Linked DNA regions of Homo sapiens: all the other regions are linked to region 1. Evidence: promoter capture Hi-C in 16 types of primary human blood cells and fetal thymus (Javierre and others, 2016). All regions are on one chromosome and are shown on one strand. The core of a region is centred on a gene start or on the middle of the fragment in contact, and the rest is flanking DNA. Distances in the headings are between cores, read along the strand shown.

Region 1 (3,562 bases), core at 643-3,142:
AAATGACTTGCCTAAGGTTATAGAGCTAGGAAAGGGCAGAACTGGAATTTAGAACAAAAATGGGCAGGCTGAAGATCCTTTTCTCTTAATGACCTTCGCATGCTGTCTCCTGAGAGACATGGAAATAAAAAATGAATAGAATAGACTCTGGTAATGTTTAGTGGTATGAAAAATGAAACAGGGTGATGTGATGGTGTACAAACACAAGTGTTGGAGGGGTGGGGGTAGGAAAACCTCACTGTGATACCTGAGACATGAAGGATGGTGATACAGTTACTTTGGGGCACAGGCAACAGAGAAAAGCTAGTGCAAAGGCCCTAAAATAGAAGGAATCTTGCCCTGTTTTATAAAACAGAAATGCCCACTTGGCTGTGTCTAGAGCTTAGTGCGTAAGCGAGTGACTGATTGGAAGTGAAGTCTGGAAGGTAGGCAGGAACCAGACTCCGTGGGGTCTCAGGTCACATTAAGAAATGTGATTTTTATTCTAAGTGCAGTGAAATTGTACACAGGATAGTAACACCATTTTATTAATTTTAAAAGATCACTCTCTTGGCTATATGCAACACTGACTGTAGGATAAAAGATGACGCAGGAAGATATAATAGGAAGCAATTACAATCCAGGTAGGAGATGGTGTTGGCAAAGGCAAGGGTAGTGGCAGTAGAATAAAATTGCGGGTGAGTTTTAAAAGTAGAATTGTTAAGACCTGTAAATGAACCGTATGTGAAGAGTGAATGAAAAGGAATTTAAGTAGGCACTCCGGGATTTTGGTTTGAGTAACTAGCATGATGATCGCGTCTTTTAGTGAGACTTGTTAAGACTGGAGGAGGGATACCTTCGGTAAGAAAAATCAGGATTTTCATCTTGAACTCTATGACTGAAAGGGCTTTTTCTGCTTTTCTTTCTTCATTAAAAAGTTGCAAAGAATTTAGGGGTAAGAAAGCATTTAAATATTCAATTTTGTGAGTTCCTTACATTTTAAACTAAGTTGGGGAAGTTGAATTTTCATTTGTTTAACAAATATTAATTGAGCAGCTACTATACGTCAAGGTCTATGTGATGAGATACCAAGATGAGCTAAACAACCAAGATCTCTATTCTCAGAATTTGTTTTTATGGAAGGGAGGAGAGACGACTGGTAGGTTTTTGGTTTTCGGGTTTTCTACTTTTCGTTGTCTTATTAAAACTTAACACTTAAGTAGCCATCTTAATAATTACATCTTGTGCTCCTGGTAGTTGGGCCCACCATTGTAAACGCTCTCGTAAATACTGACATCTCCCCTCCCACTAAAACTAACGTTTTTTAAATAAGAAATTTTAGCAAACATTACGAATACAACCTTTGCTTTGAAGTGTTAATATTTTTGCAGGAATGGTACCTTTGTAAAGATCGTGGTTGCCCCGTACATATTTGTTCTTTCTTCATATCCAATTAAATGAAAACACTAGTTTTTCCGAAGCCCAACTCTCTAGGTTTGTTGGTTCTAGCTCAGGAGAAAGGATGGAAGCAGGAGTCGTTGGATTTAAACAGTTTGGTGTAATCCTTTTCCACGCTCTCTCCCGCTAGCCGGGGACGTGGTGTCGGCTACCCGGGGCTTTCCGTCCACGCAGTACCGGAATGAAGGAGTCTGGGAGGGGGTCGGGGACGGAAAAGACGGAAGAGACATTAAGTAATTGGTTCTTGAAGGTATAAAATGAGGTTTAGGGTCTACTCTAAGGCACTGATTTCAAACGCCCGCCCCCTGGGCCGCTTCGGCCCCGCCCCTTAGTGCCGTTACGCCGACTTCCACTTCGGCCACTGCGGATTGGTCGTTGCTTCCGCCCCCGAAGCGCTTGGATTTTGCTTCCGGGTCGTAGGCGCTAGCTCTGGGCGCAGAGGTTTCTGGGAGCCAAGAGTGGTAATGGCGTCTGTATGATCTTCGGAGCCTGCTGCATCGGACCTCGGCCAGTGTGAGCGGCAAGAGGATAGGAGATTATCTTTCTTATCGCGATGGGACGGGAAAGGGCAGTTGGGGTCGGAGTCGGCGGCAGAGTGCAGAGCGCGGGCGGTGGAGGCCCTGGAGCAGCGGGCTAGGGGCGGAACCGAGTGCCTGTCAGGCGCGTCTGGAGCTCTTGGGCCCGCCGAGGAGATCGCAGCGTACAGGCAGCTCGCCTACTGCGTAAAGCGAACCCCAGGTCCTCCCTTCACTACCCTTCGCACCCCTGCAGTGCTGGGCACGGGTGAAGAGGCAGCGAGTTTCTGGTTATAGCCAAAGACTAGCTCACGGGAGGCCGGAGTGATAATTCCGTGGGTGTGTGGGAAGGGGCGGCGCCCCCAGCGCCAGATAACCCTGTTTTCTTCTTTGTATACATGTCTCTACCCTTTTTGAAAGTTGAGAGAATTAGCATCGCCCCCCCCCCAAAAAATCCTCCCAATTCGCCCACCCTCCCCACACACTTGCTTTTCCGACACTAACAGGGTTTTAGTGACTGCATCTGCTGCACAGTATTCTTGTGACTGCTCCAAGCAGAAAGTAACTTGAGGAATGAGTCCCTGATTTTTGGCATCAGAATCCTCTGGGGGTGAGGTTCCTGTTTTTTTTGAACAGGCCTTAAATTATAACCCACAAACGATCTAATTTATAGTATGATGCCTGTTGTAGGAGAAAATTGGCTCAACAAACGGTTGTTTAAGAATTTTTTTCTGTGTAACTGTCATTGAAGTTTAACACACTTTTCTCTGGGACATTTAGTAACTTTGTCAGTGATATTTTTTGTTTGTTTTTAGCTTTTGTTTCTACTAGCCTATTTGCTATTGTGTGAAGTTTAGATAAAATGCAAACCTTACAGAGTCTGGTAGAGTAAGGTTGAGTTGGAAATTTTTAAAACTCAGTCATGGCAGTACTGTATTTTACTAGGGTTTTGACATGTCAAGTGTCATAATTCTTATAATCTATGAGGAATATCTCCATTCCACAGATGACAAAGTTAAGCCAGGTGACTTGCTCAAGCCCATATAGTCAGAAGGAGAATAGGGATGCAAACTCAGATCTTCATGACAGAATTTTTTGTACTAAGGCAAGCCTGAGAAGCCATATTCCTTGTACAGCCTAAGCCTCATAATTTGTTTTCTTGAAAACTTTTGTTTAAGAAGATTAAGCAGGTTTTGGGGAATGAGTTTTAGAACTTATTTTACCAGTATGGATATTGATTAATACTCTATAAAATGAGTGTTTGTAATGTTGGAAATAACTTGATTATATTTTTCTTCAAAGCATAAAAGATGACAACAGCAGCCAGGCCAACCTTTGAACCTGCCAGAGGTGGAAGGGGAAAAGGAGAAGGTGATTTGAGCCAACTTTCAAAGCAGTATTCAAGCAGAGACCTACCCTCTCATACAAAGATAAAATACAGGTAGTAAGACTTTCTTTTTTTATTGTTCACAAAACAAGACCAGATCTGTTAAATGGCATGGTCATGATATAGTAGTATGTTTGAGTTATGTCACTTATCTATTTTCATAGGAATAGAATGCAATAGGATGTTTAACACTAAAATTCTGCTGTGATTTTAAAATGTGAAA
Region 2 (3,562 bases), core at 578-3,077, 1.5 Mb before region 1:
AACTAATAGATGTAATAAATAAGTAAAATATACAGTGTGTACAAATTATGACAAGGACTAAGGAAAAAGAAAAGGTACAGGAGATGAGGAGTGTGAGAGGAGAGGGACAGTGTGAATCTCTTTGATAGATTGATATTTGAACAAAGATATAAGGAGGTGATACATCTGACGGAAGAGCATTCTAGACACAGGACACAATGTGCACAAAGACTTTGAGGTGAAAACAGGCCTGGCACGTTTGAGGAACAGCAAAGAGAATAGCATTGCAAGAACTGAGTGAGCAGGAGCCAAGCCAGAGAGCTAATGGGATCACCAGGTACTGAAGGGCTTATAGGCCATTTTAAGGGCTTCTGTTTTTGCACTGAGTGAAATGGGAAGTCACTGCAGGACTCTGAGCAGAGGAGTGAGAAAGACCAGACTCATGTTTTTAAAGAATCAGCCTAGCTGCCGTATATAGGACAGACTGCAGGGTAATGGGGAAAGAAGCCAGAAGGCGAGGCAGGAAGCTATTACAATAATTCAGGATAACAGAAGCTTGATTGACCAAAGGAAGGGGTACTGGTGATGGGGATAAGTGGTTAGATACTAGATATATTTAGAAATTAAGAGAAGTCCGGTCTACTAACCCACCTCTGCCTCAGTTCTTGAGCCAGGGGACGAGAAGTGCATCGGCAAGCTTAGCCTTCAATGGAGAAGGCTGCGGTGCTTTAAATAACATCTTACACGCATAAGCCGTTATTACCTACCAGTAACACTCAGAGTGCATCTTGTAAGACAGGAAATCAAAGCACAGAAATATTAAATGACTTTGGCGAGTAAGTAAAAGAGTTGGGATTATTCTATCTGGCATAGCCAAAGTTGAACTCTGCATGCAGCCTTCATTAAGGCACACATTGCGGACTTGAGATCTGATGAATCAGGGACAAATAGCTACGGCTGGTGCAGCAAGGGTGAACCAGGCTGACCCCTTAAGTGCAGCAGTCCCCAACTCACCACTGAGGCAGAAACACAATAATAAAGCAATGACTGCTAATGAGCTTAATTCTGAAATGAATGAATCTCTGGGCACAAAGTGATTCTATACTGTAATGACCCCTAACTAGAAATACGAAAGTTTTACACACTCCCCTGTGTGCTTAAACTGTGTATGGCACATGATTTAACACTTTCTTAATGACTGGAGACAACGCTATGAACATTCACTGGGGCCCTGGGATCCAAGGAGCAGAGCCACTTAGCTTTAGGGGAGGTTTTGGTGAGGTTCCTTTTTTAAAGAGTATATTGAAGTTTGAAATGAGAAAAAGGGATTAAGTAGCTGGCAGAACATGAGGAGTGTTTTTGCAGCTTTGCCTCGGGAGAGAAAAAGAGAGTCGATTCCGAGTACAGCTGGGCCACTGGGACTGCATTCCTGCCTGTGAGGAGGACAGCCTGTCAATGAGCCAGAAGGGGCTAACAGAGGTAATGCTTCCTTATGATGGGCATTTTCCTGGGGGGAGCCAAAACCATATGTGAGGTTAAAAAAACAAATAAGGGCCCTCCTCTGCTTATAGAATGTGCTTATAGGTTGTACTTACAGGTTCTCAAGTTTTGCTATCATAAACACCCAAAGTACACCACGCCGGCAAGCTGAAGGCTGACAGGATAGAAAACTTGCACAAGACAGTTAACATTGTAGCGATCATCTTGCCAAACAGAGGGCAGCAATGCTTGTGTCTTGGTCGGAAAGGAGTTGGAGTGAAGTCACACAGGCAAGTGTCATTACTTGGTGTTGGGGTTTGACAGCCTGAGAGACCTCGGCAACATTGGAATTTGAAACAGAGGGCTTTAACTCCCAGTTAGAACAGTTTAAAGTCAGCTGGCCATGGTGGTTCACACCTGTAATCCCAGCATTTTGGGAGGCTGAGGCGGGTGGATCACCTGAGGTCAGGGGTTCGAGACCAGCCTAGCCAACATGGTGAAACTCTGTTTCTACTAAAAATACAAAAATTAGCCAGGCATGGTGGTGCACACCTGTAATCCCAGCTATTCTGGAGGCTGTGACAGGAGAATCACTTGAACCTGGGAGGCGGAGGCTGCAGCGAGCCGAGATCACATCACTGCAGTCCAGCCTGGGTGACAGAGTGAGAATTTCTCAAAAAAAATAAATAAATAAATAAAAAATAAGTAAAAAATAGTTTCAGGTCTTCCAAATGACCTCTCATTTGGATTCAGAATCCTATTATTTTTAAATGAATTTTTTTAATTCAATCATGATACATTTCGCTGCTGTAATAGGCAAAATTCTAAGACATTCTAAGACAGCTCCCAAGATTCTCACCCCTGGTGCATACAAACTTTCTCCCAGTTATTCTATTTGATCAAACATTAATCTAGGTGATTATTAATCTATAAAGGATTATACATATATAATTAAGGTCCCAAATTAGTTGCCATTAAGACAGAGAGATTCCCCTCAGTTGGACCTGACTTCATCAGGTGAAAACCTCAAGAGTAGAAGAGATTCAAAGTATGAGGGGAGCTCATTAAGAGAAAGATTCTCCGTTGCTCTCTCTGAAGATAGAAGGGGCCATGTAGCAAGGAATGTGGCTGGGATTAGGATCTGAGAGTAGTTCCCAGCTGACAGCCAGGAGACAAATTGGGACCTCAGTCGTACAACCACAAACAACTGAATTCTTCCAACAACCTGAATAAACTTGGAAGTGGAGGTTCCCGAGAACCTCTAGAAAGTAACACAGCACAGCCAACACTCTGATTTCAACCTGTGAGAACCAGAACAAAGAACACAACAATGCCATGCCTGGAATTTGTATACAGAAGTAAACTAAAAAATGAGTATTGTTTTAAGCTACTGAGTCTATGGCAATTTATTAGAAATCAATAGAAAATGAATACAATTGCTAAAAGCACATTTTGGAAAATAAATCACTAGTAGAACTATATACTTAATAAGATGATTGATATTTCTAAAGGAAGCTTTCCTTTACCTGGACACTTTCCTTCATTTGTGTCATACATCAGAAGATTATATTTTATATATTGGAGTTTCTTAAAGCAAGCTATATTTTTCTTACTTATGTTGCTACTATATGGTAAGCCTAAGACCTAATTTTTGCTGCAACATTTAGCCAAAATCAACTAGCAACAAAAAAAGAATTCGAAAAATTATTTTAGTAAATATGTTATAATTCAGAAACAATTTGTGAATAATTTAGTTTACCCCTTTTTTTTTGAGACAGAGTTTTGCTCTGCCGCCCAGGCTGGAGTGCAGTGGCGTGATCTCGGCTCACTGCAAGCTCCGCCTGGGCTACAAAGCGAGACTTTGTCTCACACACACACACACACAAAAAGTTTATCTCTAATTGATGTCTCTGATTTAAACTATTGCCTCCATTTTCTTCTTTCCTAATGAAGGCAGTTTACACCATTTAAATTTTTAAAATAATAAAAATAATTTTTAAATATTATGAATAATTTTTATGTTTATATATAAAATCCATTCATACAATTACCAGAAATGAAATATATTAGAAAGCCTTTTCAGAACTCAAAGGAAACAGGATAT
Region 3 (3,562 bases), core at 518-3,017, 1.5 Mb before region 1:
CTCTTTTTTTTCTTGAGACATAGTGTTAGTCTGTTGCTTTTTTTCTAAATTAGGCATTCTCTTTCCATTTTTCATATATTTGTCACTTTCTTATAGATTTATAAGACTTCTTTTATGTGAAAGATGTTAAAAATACACTGCCTTCCTATATATGTTGACACGGTTTCATTTCTTTCTTTTTAAAAAGATCAGTAGTTTAATATTGATTTATTCAATCAATATTAATAAGTGTGCAATAAAATCAACCAAATTCTGCTTACTGGTTTCTGTCTCTGATGTCATACTTGGAAAATCTGCCTTTCTAAGATTATGTAACCATTTATTTTCTTCTATTAATTTTGTTATTTCAATTTTTAATAGCTAAAATATTAACCCATCTGGAATTTGGATGGTGTATGGAATAGGTAAGAATCTAAATTTTTTTAACGATGGATCAATTGTTACAAAATTAGTTTGTATCAAACTCATTCTTTTCTCACCAATTTAGAATATTACTTTCATCATATATGAAATTCTTAAATATAACTTTTTATGGGGTTTCTAATCTCATTGAACTGTCTTTCTCTTCCTCTGCCAATACCAGGTGATTTTAATTTTAATTGTGTTTGTCTTTACTCATCTTCTTTCTTCATTTTCCTCAGAAAAAAAGGTTTAGCTCTTCTCTAAAATTTAATTATTAAAATTAACTTTAGAGCCACGTTGCAAAGTTGGGATTCCAATGGGAATTGCATTCTATTTGTGTAGTAATCTGAGGAGAATTTACTTCTTTACAATATTAATATTTCACACCCAAGAACATCCACTTAATCAAGATTCTTTTATGTTCCTCTACTTATTTTGTAGTTCTCTTCAAGAAAGACTTGAACCTTTTCATGAGAGTTATTCCTAAATATTTTCTAACTAAATTTTAAAAAGAGTTAAGATCTTGGTAATCCTGTCCTAATTTCTAAATATGGTCTATGTGCTTCAGCTATAGTCTCCTACACAGTGGTTCTTAAGAACTCTAAACCCTGAGATGAGGGGGAAAATCAATTGTACATCAAAATAGTAAATACTTGGTAATGAAGCAGTGTTACAGATTTTTATTCCGTCATTTCTAAATTTTCTTTATCTTTATATTTAAAAATAAGTTTAACATGTGAATGAGAGACCTATCACTTAAGACCCAAAACTCCCACACTTTCCATTTATGTCAATATATTATACATAGGTGTAGGCACCAAAAATTTTTGTGGTTAGTCACCCAAACTAGATTATAAAGGCTTTAATATTTCCCTGCACCTTTTATTCGTTATTCTTCATGGCTCCTAGTACAATATCATGAAAATAGTAAATGCCCAGTTGATGCCTCCTCAAGGAGTTATCAAGTGAATTGAGTGACTAAAGCAGAAGATGGAAAGAACTACAAAATTTGATGTGGCACATCAAAATAACTTGCGCACTGTTTTGTTTTTAAATTATAATTCTTGTAGGCATGTCTATGTCTTCAACTAGACTATAAGTATGTTGTCACTAGGAGCTGTATCTCATATTCCCTTTATGTATTCTCATATTCCCATCAGAACAACTTAGGGACAAATCATGGATTGATTAAAAATAAAACTTCATATGCTAAAGAACCAAAACCACATAAAAATGTCAAAGAAGACAAAATAGAGAATACATCTGCATCCTAAACAAGCATTTTTAGAGCCATTACCCACATTTTAAATAGGCCAAAGTGTCTCAGTCTGAGGAAAAGGATTATAGCAAAGCAAGCATTGTTTTTGGTGGTGGCAGTAGTCTTCACTTTTTGTTATATTAGAAAGTGCAAGACAATAGTCAGGCGTGGTGGCTCACGCCTGTAATCCCAGCACTTTGGGAGGCCTAGGCAGGTGGATCATTTGAGGTCAGGAGTTCGAGACCAGCCTGACCAATATGGTGAAACCCCATCTCTACTAAAAATACAAAAAGTTAGCTGAGCGTGGTGGTGGGCACCTGTAATCCTAGCTACTTGGGAAGCTGAGGCAGGAGAATCGCTTGAACCCAGGAGGCAGAGGTTGCAGTGAGCCGAGATTGTGCCACTGCCCTCCAGTCTGGGCAACAGAGCGAACTCCGTCTCAAAAAAAAAAAAAAAGAAAAGAAAAGAAAAGAGAAGAAAAAGAAAAAGAAAAAGAAAGAAAAAAAAAGTGCAAGAAAGTAACAAGAATGTTTGTCATTTTTTAAAAATGAAACCTCGGCCGGGCGCGGTGGCTCACGCCTGTAATCCCAACACTTTCGGAGGCCGAGGTGGGCAGATCACGAGGTCAGGAGATCGAGACCATCCTGGCTAACACAGTGAAACCCCATCTCTACTAAAAATACAAAAAATTAGCCGGGCGTGGCGGCAGGCGCTTCCCAGCTACTCGGGAGGCTGAGGCAGGAGAATGACCTGAACCCAGGAGGTGGAGCTTGCAGTGAGTCCAGATCGCGCCACTGCACTCCAGCCTGGGCGACAGAGCGAGACTCAGTCTCAAAAATAATAATAATAAAATAAAATAAAAAATGAAACCTCTAGACAATATATTGTAGAACAGATAGATACAAATGCGGGTCATCTCTTTGTTTTTGCTGAGTCTGATAACATTAAGGTGAACACTGAACAGCCATCTGCTAAGTAATTAAACCTGCCGCTTATTAATGTAACTCTTGTATTAGTTCAGCATTGATGAACAATTTAATGGGTTGAGAAATTGCAGATTCAATTTCCTGTGTCACTACTCTCTCGTGTTCCCATAATCAAGTTAGATATGTTTTTACCCAAAACTATGTTAAATCAAAATAGTGTTAAAAAGAAGAGTCAATATTCTGATATACCACAAGATGGGGATGTTACTCCATCTTAAATGTCCCCATTGCCCTGCTCCCGCATCCCAACCCCTGTTTTGTTTCAAGATATTTAAAACTCTCCTGAAGACTAAATTTGGGTTTTCTTTCTCAAAAATTAAGATTTCAGATCATCTATGTTTCCAAATGAAGTTAGAATCAAACCATCTATAAAACAAAATGGAAACAGGGATATCCACTTTAAAATGTGTCAGGGATACACGCTTTAAAATGAGTGTATCTTTGTTTTTCTGCAGATTATATGCATTTGAATTTTGAACGGAGCTTCATGGTGGGCGTGTGTGTGTGTGTGCGTGTGTGTGTGTGTTTTATTCCGCAGGTGCTTGTTATCCTGTCTCTTCATCCACATGAAAGCCTCCTACATAGTAATTTTGTGAGTCCCTGTAATTGTCTCTCCCTTTTAGCTGTGCTAGTTCACATTTGCAACTCCAGTATGAAGTGAGTATGTGTGTTTGCGTTTCTTTGTCTTGTGAACATGTGACTGTGTCATCCTTTGTTTCTATTCTTCCTTATCTCTTCTGTTTTTCCATTTAAAAAAATCTTAATACAGCAAAGGTATCTGGTAGTCTATAATGATGCTAAAAAATTTCTTTCCTTTCACCCACTATGTCTCTCCATAATAGTCACTAAAGGTCTGATTTTTAAAATTAGTTGTTATTATCAAATTGAATTAGGAAATGAGAATATTTTATATGTT
Region 4 (3,562 bases), core at 576-3,075, 1.3 Mb after region 1:
TCTATTTTCTGGACCAGAAGCCAATCCAAGGATATAACACATTGCATTTGTTGCTGTGTAACTGTGTGTCATCTAAAAAGCAGACGCTAAGATGGGAGTAAACCTGCAAATATTTTATTAGGAGAAATGCGTGTGTGAGGGAAAATGGGAGGGAGCTGATAAAAGTTACAAGCGCCTCAGACTTCAGTGTAAGTCTAACACTGAATGGAGGGAAGTAACAATGGGTAGACCCCTCTTAGACAGCCATGCAGTATAAGAAATGTTCAGCAAGAACCCGTGGGGAGATTCTCAGGAACAGGCCTGCCACTGTCAGTGGCTAGGAGCAGCCCATGGGAAGCATGGCCTCAGTGCAAATGGAGATTTCAGAATGCAGGAGATTAAGATATGTGAGTTACATTCTCATGTCAAAGTTGTCATGTCCCCCTTAATCTGGGACAGTTTCTCAGTCTGTCTTTTCAAGACCCTGTCATTTTTGAAAATACTGGCCAAGTACTTTGTTGAATGTCCCTCCATTTAGATTTGTCTAATCTTATGTGATTAAACTGAGGTTATGTATTTTTGGCAAGAACACCACAGAATTGATTAGGCACCTTTTCAGTGCATTGTTATCAAGAGGTAAATGATGCTGAATTTTGGTCACTTGGTTAAGATGATGTCCACCAGGTTTCTCCTCTGTAGTTACTACTTTTCCTTTATAAATATCTCATGAAGACAGAGTAGAGGCTACAGAAATATGCTTTTCATCATACTTTTGCCCATTGACGTTAGTATCCATTGATGACTGTTGTCTGAAACAACTACTGTGGTGTTTACCAAATAGTATTTTCTATTTCCATTATTCCTTCTACAATTATCAATCGGAATCCTGCTGTAAGGAAGTTTTCCCTGCTGCCCCATTTACTTGTTTATTAATTATTTATTCTTAGTAATATGGATTTTTAAATTCTACATTTTATTACTATCCAATATTGAAGATTATACTACTTATCTTGCAAGATTTCGTCCTGAGGATTAAATGGCTCCTGGTACATAGTAATCACAAAATTAACACTAAACTTGGAAGATCTGGGTTCAAGACCCAACACTGCCACTTATTAGCAGGAAGATACTGGCCAAGTCACTGAAGTCACTTTGGTTTCGTTTTCTTAAACTGTATAAAGGGAATAATAATATCTACCCCAAAAGGTTTGTTCTGACGTCTATGTGACTTAGCGTGAAGTCTTCAAATACACTCTAAGTATTAAGGACTCAAAAGTTCACCATTGTTTTAAAAGTTGAGTTTGTGACAGGATTGAATAACTGTGAGATTAAGGTGGCAGACACCAAAAGAGAGCGTGCTCTTTGCATGAAACGATCCAGGCAAGGCTCTTTTAACAGCTACCAGGTGGCAGGCCATGTCCGCGGGTGATCTGGGGGAAGCGCCCCTCCCCCGACACGGAAGCTCCGCGACAGGGGAGGCTGCGTGGGAAGCTCGCGCGACCCGACCCCAGGAGAGCGCGCAAAGCCTCTCGCACTGAGTTACCGGGTCTGGTCCGGACACTCCTTACAGCCGCCAGCCCGACCGCGGGCAGGGCCCACGGCCTGCGGAGCCTGAGAAACGCGAGCCGTACCTGCGTTCGCAACAAGGCGCCTTCCTGGGATCCCATTCCTCCGGAATACAATCCCAGCTCTTGGGCCTCGGGGAGTCATGCTCCTACGGGGCGACTGGGAAGCCAGTGCATCCCTGACTCACCTGAGAACCCGGGGCCTGGACACAGTAACCGCAGCTCAGAGCAAGCCAGCCTGGTAAGCTCCTGCCCATCAGCTGCCCAGCAGCCGTTTCTGCGCCTGCGGGAGAGCCATCGCCGAGCCGCCGTCACTTCCGTCATTCAAACCGCCCGCCAATGGCCGGACCAAACCGCGGGAATAGGCCCTGTCCCGCCTTCCTCGGGGGCCGCCGGGAAGGCTGCGCGGTGTTAAAAACCCCGCGCCCCGCGCACGCGCACAGGCACGCGCCAGCCCCAGCCTGCCTAGGGGCCCATTATTTGTCACACCTGTCAGGCTTTGACGTTTTCCCGTATGGGCCGCGCTCGGTGGCTCGCGCCTGTAATCCCAGCACTTTGGGAGGCCAAGGCGGGAGGATCACTTGAGCCCAAGAGTTCGAGGTTATGTATTTTTGGTTATGAGTTCAAGACCAAGTCCTTTTAAAAACATGGTGAAACCTCATCTTTACAAAAAATACGACAACAGCAAAAATTAGCCGTGCGTGGTGGTGGGCGCCTGTAATCCCAGCTACTCGGGAGGCTGAGGCAGGAGAATCGCTTGAACCCAGGAGGTGGAGGTTGCAGTGAGCCGAGATCCCGCCAGTACTGCACTCCAGCCTGGGCGACAGAGCCAAAGCCTGTCTAAAAAAAAAAAAAAAAAGTGCAGAGCCATGAGGGTGACTTTTGTTTTAAGGCCCCATCATGAAGATATCTTGGGATATGCATCCTTTTCTGTACTGACTACGGAATTCATTGGTACTATTATGCGCAGTTAACGTCTTATAGCTTTCATTTAAGGCCTCCAGCTCATAACAACAATGAGCCGTATGTTACCCTGTGCCTCCAGAGGTACAGCGCACGGAGAGCACCTCACGGATTTATCTGCTGTAAATAACCAATAATCAGGCGGTGAGCACAGGTTAATACCTATTGAGTATCTGTTATGTGCCGAGTACATTATGTTACTCTGGATGGATTATGATGCCTATACTAGATTTTGCAGTCTGGGTCATGGGGGTTAAACATCAGGAATCAAAGGATTAAAAATGGGGGGTGGGGATGGGAAGTTGCTGACACGATCAGATCTGGCTGCACAGTGGGGAAAAGGTCAGAGAGAGTGAAGACAGAAGGCCGTATACTACTACAGAAAGTGAAAGATAATAGCAATGAGAATGGAGAGAGGTGAGTAGATTGAATAGGAAGCCAAACATCAGGAATTGGTGGTTACCTGGTTATGGGAGGCACAAGAGGAGAAAACAAGGGTGATGCCCAAGTCCCAGATACCTAGCACCTGGGTAGATAGTGATAACATCCTCCTGGAACACACATGAAGAGAACCAGGAGGGAGAAGTAATAAGTTAAGCTTTGAATATTTTGAATTTGAGCTGTTTATGAGATATCTAGACAAAGGGATGCATTTCAGAAACTTAGGACACAAAATTAGCAGTACTTGACAAACAATTGCATGTGAGATTGAGAGAAAAGGGAAAGTGAAGTTGATTTCATAGGCCACTAGCTTGGGTAGCAGTGTTGATTCTTGATTGTAAAGGGAGAAATCAGAAATGGCAGTTAAGTGGGTAGGGTGATGAGCCAAGCTCTGTGTATATTGAACTTCATGTGCCTGTAGAACATCCAGTGATGTACTGTAAGCAGATGAATACATCGGTAGATAGCCCACAGAAAGAACTAGGCTAAGCATAAAGGGATTTCCTTGTTACATGAGTAATAACAAACGCTAGCGGAATGGATGAGATCACTTAGGGAGAATTTGCAGAGTGAGAAGAGCAATGAGCAAAGAACCAAACTCCGAGGAACACCAA
Region 5 (3,562 bases), core at 698-3,197, 1.2 Mb after region 1:
AGCCGTGGGCTAAGTAAGTGAGGCACCGCAGCCGCAAGACCCACGAAGGGGTCAGAGGAATATCCTGCTTCAACTGCACTCCAGCCTGGGTGGCAGAGCAAGACCCTGTCTCTATAACACAAACAGAGAAATACCAAATGTGGCCGGGCGCGGTGATTCACGCCTGTACTCCCAGCACTTTGGGAGGCCGAGGCAGACGGATCACTTGAGGTCAAGAGTTCGAGACCTGCCTGGCCAACATGGTGAAACCTGGTCTCTACTAAAAGTACAAAAATTAGCCGGTTGTGGTGGCGGGCGCGTGTAGTCCCAGCTACTTGGGAAGCTGAGGTGGGTGGATCTCTTGAGCCCGGGAGGTGGGGGTTGCAGTGAGCTGAGATCGGGCCACACTGCACTCCAGCCTGGGCGACAGAGCGAGACTCTGTTTCTAAAAAAAAAAAGAAAAAAGAAAAAATACAAAATGAAATGTGAAATTTCAATGATTCTGCATTAGGAGTTAAATGTTCCTTCCCTTTAATAGCACTTTTCCCCTTCTTTTTGAACAAGGGACGCTGCATTTTCATTTTGCATTGAGCCTCACAAATTACACAGCTAGGCTTGCTGCTGAATACGGCAGTGAGGGACATGCCATACCAGTCCTGGAGCTTCGTCATTGCCCAGACCCTGTGGATCAAATGCAGTGGGCTGCCTAAAGGATCGGACTTTTTATCCCCGGAATTGTCCAAACTATGGAGCAAAGCAGGTAAAGAGACCAGATTACTTTTAAGGCCCGTTCAATCCTAAAATGTGAACTATAAAATAAGACTAGACAGCTTTACTGATTTTTGTGGTTTATCATATGAAAACAGAATTTTGAAAGCGGAAAAATCAAACCAGTTCATTCCTTTTTAAAATTACTTTGGGAGGCCGAGGCGGGAGGATCACCTGAGGTCGGGAGTTTGAGACCAGCCTGACCAACATGGAGAAACCCCCGCCTCTACTAAAAATGCAAAAATTAGCTGGGCATGGTGGCGCACGCCTGTAATCTCAGCTACTGGGGAGACTGAGGCAGGAGAATCGCTTGAACCCGGGAAGCAGATGTTGCGGTGAGCCAAGATCGCACCGTTGCACTCCAGCCTGGGCAACAAGAGCGAAACTCGGTCTCAAAAAAAAAAAAATTACTTTGGGAGAAAAAAACCCCACCAAAACTAAACTAGTTTACACTGTTTAATCTTAACTCAGGAACCGGTCAAGGAACTAATGGTGTGGGGCAGGGGGGATGTAGGAGGAAACTTAGGAAAAACAAATCCTCCACAGGTCTCACTTGTGACATGTTAGCCAACTCCTGGGAGGCAGAAAGGGTGAGCTTACGAAACAGGTGCAAAAGTGGGGAGGAGACCTGGGCGTGCTATGGAATAACACTGGCGTCCAGCACAAAGGTTACACACTTCGAGTCATGGTCAAAGAATGAGCCTTCTCCAATATTTTAACACACAAGGGTTTCTGAAGGCAGAAATAGACAAAGGATTACAAAACACTCAGGCACACATCCCACCCGTCACCCTCGCCACACACCCGGGACCAGATTTAGAAAGCCAGGCGACAGCTCAGCAAACGCGAGACCACCGGAAACGAACCGGGCTGAGAGGCTGTTTCCTCACAGTTCTCATCCACTCACAAGTGACCGCACGTTTTGTTTTTGTTATTTGCCGAAATGTTCTTGGCTATTCCACTCACCTAAACGGTCACGGTAGCAAAACACCCAGAGTCCGGATCTTCGCCTAGGCCAACCCCGCCTCCTCAGAATACGCGAGCTAGAGCTCCGCCCACGTTAGTCAGTCCTCCCTGCGCGGCGAGAAAAATGGCGCCCCCACGTCGCGTCTCCTCCCACCGCTCGCCTTCTTCCCGGAAGCTAAGTTGTATCGCGAGATTTCGGCCTGACTATTACTTGGGCCACGGAAATAGCCAACCCTTTTCTTCCGCACGGTTGGAGGAGGTCGGCTGGTTATCGGGAGTTGGAGGGCTGAGGTCGGGAGGGTGGTGTGTACAGAGCTCTAGGACACCAGGCCAGTCGCGGGTTTTGGGCCGAGGCCTGGGTTACAAGCAGCAAGTGCGCGGTTGGGGCCACTGCGAGGCCGTTTTAGGTAGGTTGCTAAGAGGGCGAGGCCGTCCGGGCCTGGCGGGCGGGGGAGGCGTTGCATATCTGGGGTTTCCCGGGGCCCCTTCGTTGGTCCGGAGGATCGAGACTCCGAAGTCGGTCCGAGAGGGTGAAGGGATCACGGCCGCAGGCCACTCCGCGCCACGCGGCTGGTATGAGTCCCACACAAACGTGGTTGTAGTGTGGACGGGCTTCATTATATCTTGAGATGGAGGTGTTAAATCGTGTTGCGGACAAGTTTAACCTTATTACGTGATTTAAATGATTTAACCTTCGTATGTGAGGTACCCATTACTCGCGCCGGTTTTCTGCAGGTTAGGCGCTGCCGGGTGAGAGGCGCTGGTGGTCACAGCGTTAGCTCCGGGTAAAGCGCCGCTCTCTGCCCACGTGGCCTCTAAGAATTGCAGAATCCCCACGGAGGCATCGACACCCAAGTAGGAGTGTCTTCTAAACACTTCGAAAAAGTGATTATTGAGCTAGCTTTATTTTGATAATCCCTACTTTTAAAAAAAATTAACTACAGGTATACCGTTAAAGCATGGGGGCAAATTTTTGTTGAATTCCGTTTTTGAGCATTCGATATTTAATGACTTTGTAGAATCTTGTACTTAAAAAAACTAGTAAGACCTTGTACCAGGAAAATACCACAGGGGGCATTTAACAAATCTGAGCTCTTGGTGACCTTATCGTTTCATATTTTAAATATTTTGCTAGTTCATCCTAGGATTTATATGTAATGACTCATGTCAGGTCCCAAGAAGCTACAGAATGAGACAAGAGATTGACTAAGGCATGTACAATAATGAAATAAGTAGTTATCTTTAATTTTTGTTGCCATGCCTTTTTTTTTTTTTTTTTTTTTTTTTTTTTTTTTCCTGAGACAGGGTCTTGCTCTGTCGTCCAGGCTGGAGTGCAGTGGTGCAATCTCGGCTAACAGCAACCTCCACCGCGGCTTAAGCGATCCTCCCGAGTGGCTGGGAGCAAAGGCACGGGCCAACACACCTAGCCAGTATTTTAAGAATTTTTTGTAGAGACAAGGGTCTCCTTGTGTTGCTGAGGCTCACTACATACAAGCTCCACCTCCCAGGCTCAGGTATTCCACCTACCCCAGCCTCCTGACCACAGGCGCGCGCCACTATTCTGGCTAATTTCCGTATTTTTTGTAGAGACGGAGTTTCACCACGTTGCCCAGGTTGGTCTTGAGCTCCTGGGCTCAAGCGATCCGCCCGCCTCGACCTCCCAAAGTGCTGTGTTACACAGGCCTGAGCCACCCAGACCAACCTGTTTTTCTTTTTTCTTTTAGCTCACAAGAAGGAATCTTTTTCTTTTTTTTTTTTTTTTTTTTTGGTATGTTGTATACTCTCTACCATGGGGATGAAGACACAAGAATTATGATAGTTCATTGAAAAAGGTTGAGAATTCAGAACT
Region 6 (3,562 bases), core at 668-3,167, 1.2 Mb after region 1:
TTTCTTTTCAGTCTGAAGGGACTTTTTGAATAGAGAAGATATCAACTAAATTTGTGTTATATGTGTAGAACTTCTCCCAGTCTGTCATTTATCTTTTTACTTTGCTTATGGCATCTTTTCCCATTATTTTTAAATTTTATGTAAGTAATATATCTATACTTTGTAAGGTAGGTAGGTGTGTGGTTGTGTGTGTGGATGTTAGAGTCTTGTTCTGTTACCCAGGCTGGAGTGCGGTGGCACAATCATAGCTCACTGCAGCCTTGATCTCACTGGCTGAATCCATCCTCCTCCCTCAGCCTCCCCAGTAGCTGGGACCACAGACGTGCACCACCACGCCCAGCTAATTTTTTTAATTTGTAGAGGCAGGAGCTCCCTATGTTGCTCAGGCTGGTCTTGAAGTCTGGGCTCAAGTGATCCTTCCACCTTGGCCTCCAAAAATGTTGGAACTACAGGTGTGAGCCACCATGCCTGTCCTGTTATTTCCGAAATTAAGAAGATCTATCCGACTCCCAGAATAATACAACTATTCTTTCATTATTTCTTCTAACACTTTGTTTTACTTTCTTCATTTGGCACTTCAATCCTCAAAAATTACTGTGGAAATAATTTTTGTGTGAGGTATAAAGTAGTATTTACCTTTTTTTGCAAATAGACCCCTAATAATCCTAACAGCACTGCCCTGAAATGACATCTTTAAATTCCCATTTACACTGGGTGTGCTGCATAACTAAATTAAGAATTTTGATTTTTTTTTCAAAAATCCTTGACAATAATGAGAATCTGAAACCCACTCATTATTTCTTCACTTCCCTCCTAGTCTCCTCCCTTCCAGTTTTGCTTTCCCTATAATTCATTTATTAGAAAGCATCTAGAGTAAACTTTAACAAAACCATCTCTACTTATCCTGCAAAAGCTTTCAGTGGTCTTAACACTAGTCAAACGCTTATCCCGGCCTACTGGGTTCTACATGATCTGGACCCGCCTACCTCTTGGACCTCGTCACACATTTCAGTCAAAACAGACCTCTTTTCTGCAGGTGCTACTATCATCATTCACACCGCACAAGGATGCAAAGTAACTCGCCCAAGGTCACACAGCCGGCAAGGGGCAGAGCCCCGATCTAGGGCTCTTTTAGCCACTAAGTGTGCTACATTAAAGGCCCTCTACAGAGAAGCATTCATTTAAACATTTCACGGTTTGACAGTGTCTCTAAACGCTGCCATTCAAGGAGACCCGCAGGAGTATTACGTAAAGTCGTGTCCTACCTTGTCCGGCAGCAACAAAAAGATGACGACCAAGTATCCTTACGCTTCCGCTAGAGGGACACTCAAAAGTTCTCGCACGCACAAGATCACCCCCATCGCGGGAGAGGCGGAGGCCCGCGCGGGTGCTGGGACCCAGACCGGGGGACTCGGGCAGCGGATGCAGGCCTTACCTTCCTCGTCGTCCTGGTCTGCGCTGGACCCGGCGCCCGGCCACTCCTGCGCGTCGCCCTCGGTCCCCGCCGCCTCCTCCTCCTCGGAGCCCGAACCCTGGCTGAAGTCTATCCGCTGGGCCAGACGCGCCAGATTCTGCGACATGGACAGCGGGGGCAGGTACGTCTCGGTGCCATCCAGGCCCACCTCATGGACCTGCTTCTCGCAGGCCGATTCGATGCTGATCCGCACTGCGCGCACCCCGGACATGCTGGCTGCGTCGGCCAGCGGTGGGAGGACCCCCCACGAGCCAAAAAACGAGGTACGAAGAGGAGGCTTCCCTGCGGAGAGCCGGGAACTCAGAAGCCCGCAGCCGCGGTGCCTCAGAAGACCCTCGGGAAACCGAACGCAACGCTCAGACTGGAAACAAAGGAGCTGGCCCAGCAACTTTCCCAGAACGCACCGCAAGCTCCCTCCTCGGTAAGTCTTTCGGAGCAAAACTGGGCAGGCGCGGAAGCTCCAGGGTTCCCTAGAGCGCTTCCGGTGAATCACGGTGCAGGGTGGGGTAAACTTCCGGGCCTATAAGAGGCGTGGCCGGCAGAGGGAGGGAAAGAGCGGTTTGGGAGCCGAGAGTGTGGCGGGTATATTCCTTGCTTTTTAAGCCTGCGTTTGTTTAAAAAGTGGATGAGGAAAGAAAGCTGCAGAGGCTAGAAGAGTTAAGGAAAAGGAAATTAATGGATCCTTGGATCTTAGCAATGAGAGTCCTGTTGAGAGAACTGAGATCTGGTGGCGCGCGCCTGTGGTCCAGCTACGCGGGTGGCTGAGGCGGGAGAATGGCTTGAGCCCTGGAGATGGAGGCTGCAGTGAGCCGAGATCTCACCGCTGCATTCCAGCCTAAGCAACAGAGTGGGATCCTGCCTCAAAACAAAAGTTATTTTAAATTAGCAAGAAATTTTTTAAAGAAACACTATCTGAAGAGTTAGAAATTAAGGGCATGGCTTGGGGGAAACAATCGTGCTTATCACCACTTAAAATTATACTACGTAATTATTTGGTTTCCTGTTAGTTATAACTCTATGACAGCCAATATCTGCAGCAGACATAATAGACTCTGGCATGTAGTAAGTGCTTAATATTTATTTTATGCCCGAGTAACAGAATAAATAATGTTGATCTCGCTTTTTTATTAGTGATGGGGTCCCACTATGTTGCCCAGGCTGAGTGCAGAGGTTATTCACAAGTGCTGTCAGCACGCTACAGCCTGGAGCTCCTGGGCTCCAACGATGCTCCTGCCTTAGCCTCCTGAGGAGCTGGGACTATAGGAGCGTGTCACCATGCCTGGCCTGCAAATAATATTTAAAAGATTAAGAAGAAGTGGTATAACTTCAGTCTTTGGGTCTCCAAGAACGTATTTCATTAGTAGGAATTCCACAGACAAAGATGGATTATTTTATATTACAAACCTCTATATTTCGTTTAAGGAATTATATATACCGTTTATCATGAGTGTTTGCCAGGTTTTGTTCTGACCAAGATATATCTAGGTTTTGAACTACTTTCCTAAGGTATTTAGGAAAATACGGTTGCCCTGGTGTCAGTCCCTGCTGAAGAAGAAAGTAGATGGCCGTGTGTGGAGGGGGTTGAATTTTCATGAGAGAAACCTATTTCTGGCAAGCTGTACAGTCTGTCGCCCAATCATGTTCGAGAACCACTGTACTTGCTTTTCGTGTAAATTTGTTTAAAAATTTTTTTTAACTTTATTTTAAAATCTGATTAATAGCCAGGCGCAGTGGCAGTCTAATAGTGCAGACAAAAACAAGACAACAACAAATGATTATGATTCCTAGAATAAGCAAAGCTTTTGCCACCAAGTCTTCAAGATCAAAACTAGCTGCTTAGCCAGTTGTTTAAAGATGTGTTGGATCTGAAAGGTTAGTTGTTAAGGTTTTCATATTATCCATTAACGTAGTGATATTATCTGATTCATCTGGGATACAGACATAACACACAGTTTTTATGATAATGCAAGTTCCTCCCTGGGCTTCGGTGAGTATGTCAAAAGCCATACGGTTTTGTAATAATGGCCTTTTCCATAAGAATAACTATTGTTTAATAATGGAATACTTATGTAGCTATCTTTTGGGTAT

The links. The method cuts DNA at HindIII sites, captures the fragments that hold promoters and counts their contacts. A CHiCAGO score of 5 or more calls a contact.
Region 2: a contact is called between a fragment that was not itself captured here and the fragment with the promoter of CWC15 in region 1, in 1 of 17 cell types (activated CD4 T cells). The highest score is 7.1, in activated CD4 T cells.
Region 3: a fragment that was not itself captured here is called in contact with the fragment with the promoter of CWC15 in region 1 in 8 of 17 cell types (activated CD4 T cells, naive B cells, non-activated CD4 T cells and 5 more); the score reaches 10.4 in activated CD4 T cells.
Region 4: the fragment with the promoter of CEP295 here is called in contact with the fragment with the promoter of CWC15 in region 1 in 1 of 17 cell types (neutrophils); the score reaches 5.5 in neutrophils.
Region 5: the fragment with the promoter of TAF1D here is called in contact with the fragment with the promoter of CWC15 in region 1 in 1 of 17 cell types (neutrophils); the score reaches 6.6 in neutrophils.
Region 6: a contact is called between the fragment with the promoter of MED17 here and the fragment with the promoter of CWC15 in region 1, in 1 of 17 cell types (total CD8 T cells). The highest score is 5.2, in total CD8 T cells.

The regions. Positions count from the first base shown.
Region 1 is chr11:94,971,886-94,975,447 of GRCh38, reverse strand. It overlaps CWC15 (CWC15 spliceosome associated protein), which reads left to right and starts at 1,892. Exons shown (of 7, transcript NM_016403.4): 1 at 1,892-1,950; 2 at 3,255-3,393. The coding sequence starts at 3,263. It overlaps KDM4D (lysine demethylase 4D), which reads right to left and starts at 1,739. Exons shown (of 3, transcript NM_018039.3): 1 at 1,380-1,739. RefSeq lists enhancers at 1,486-1,635, 1,956-2,125, 1,840-2,615. The HindIII fragment of the contact is 9,854 bases long and covers 1-3,562 here.
Region 2 is chr11:96,445,245-96,448,806 of GRCh38, reverse strand. JRKL-AS1 (JRKL antisense RNA 1) reads left to right here. Exons shown (of 5, transcript NR_047481.2): 3 at 1,345-1,458; 4 at 1,564-1,752. Among named protein-coding and RNA genes, the nearest start is that of JRKL, 57 kb to the right of the region's middle. The HindIII fragment of the contact is 2,297 bases long and covers 679-2,975 here.
Region 3 is chr11:96,426,263-96,429,824 of GRCh38, reverse strand. No RefSeq gene overlaps it. Among named protein-coding and RNA genes, the nearest start is that of JRKL, 38 kb to the right of the region's middle. RefSeq lists a silencer at 2,000-2,212. The HindIII fragment of the contact is 4,059 bases long and covers 1-3,562 here.
Region 4 is chr11:93,659,945-93,663,506 of GRCh38, reverse strand. CEP295 (centrosomal protein 295) reads right to left here and starts at 1,825. Exons shown (of 30, transcript NM_033395.2): 1 at 1,733-1,825. RefSeq lists an enhancer at 1,702-1,831 and a silencer at 1,992-2,061. The HindIII fragment of the contact is 3,556 bases long and covers 1-3,107 here.
Region 5 is chr11:93,739,880-93,743,441 of GRCh38, reverse strand. It overlaps TAF1D (TATA-box binding protein associated factor, RNA polymerase I subunit D), which reads left to right and starts at 1,947. Exons shown (of 6, transcript NM_024116.4): 1 at 1,947-2,120. C11orf54 (chromosome 11 open reading frame 54) reads right to left here and starts at 1,770. Exons shown (of 9, transcript NM_001286069.2): 1 at 1,714-1,770. RefSeq lists enhancers at 18-557, 1,078-1,197, 964-1,649, 1,778-2,287. The HindIII fragment of the contact is 24,379 bases long and covers 1-3,562 here.
Region 6 is chr11:93,782,637-93,786,198 of GRCh38, reverse strand. MED17 (mediator complex subunit 17) reads right to left here and starts at 1,917. Exons shown (of 12, transcript NM_004268.5): 1 at 1,436-1,917. The coding sequence starts at 1,685. RefSeq lists silencers at 1,185-1,379, 1,381-1,510 and enhancers at 1,641-1,860, 1,802-2,096. The HindIII fragment of the contact is 2,360 bases long and covers 916-3,275 here.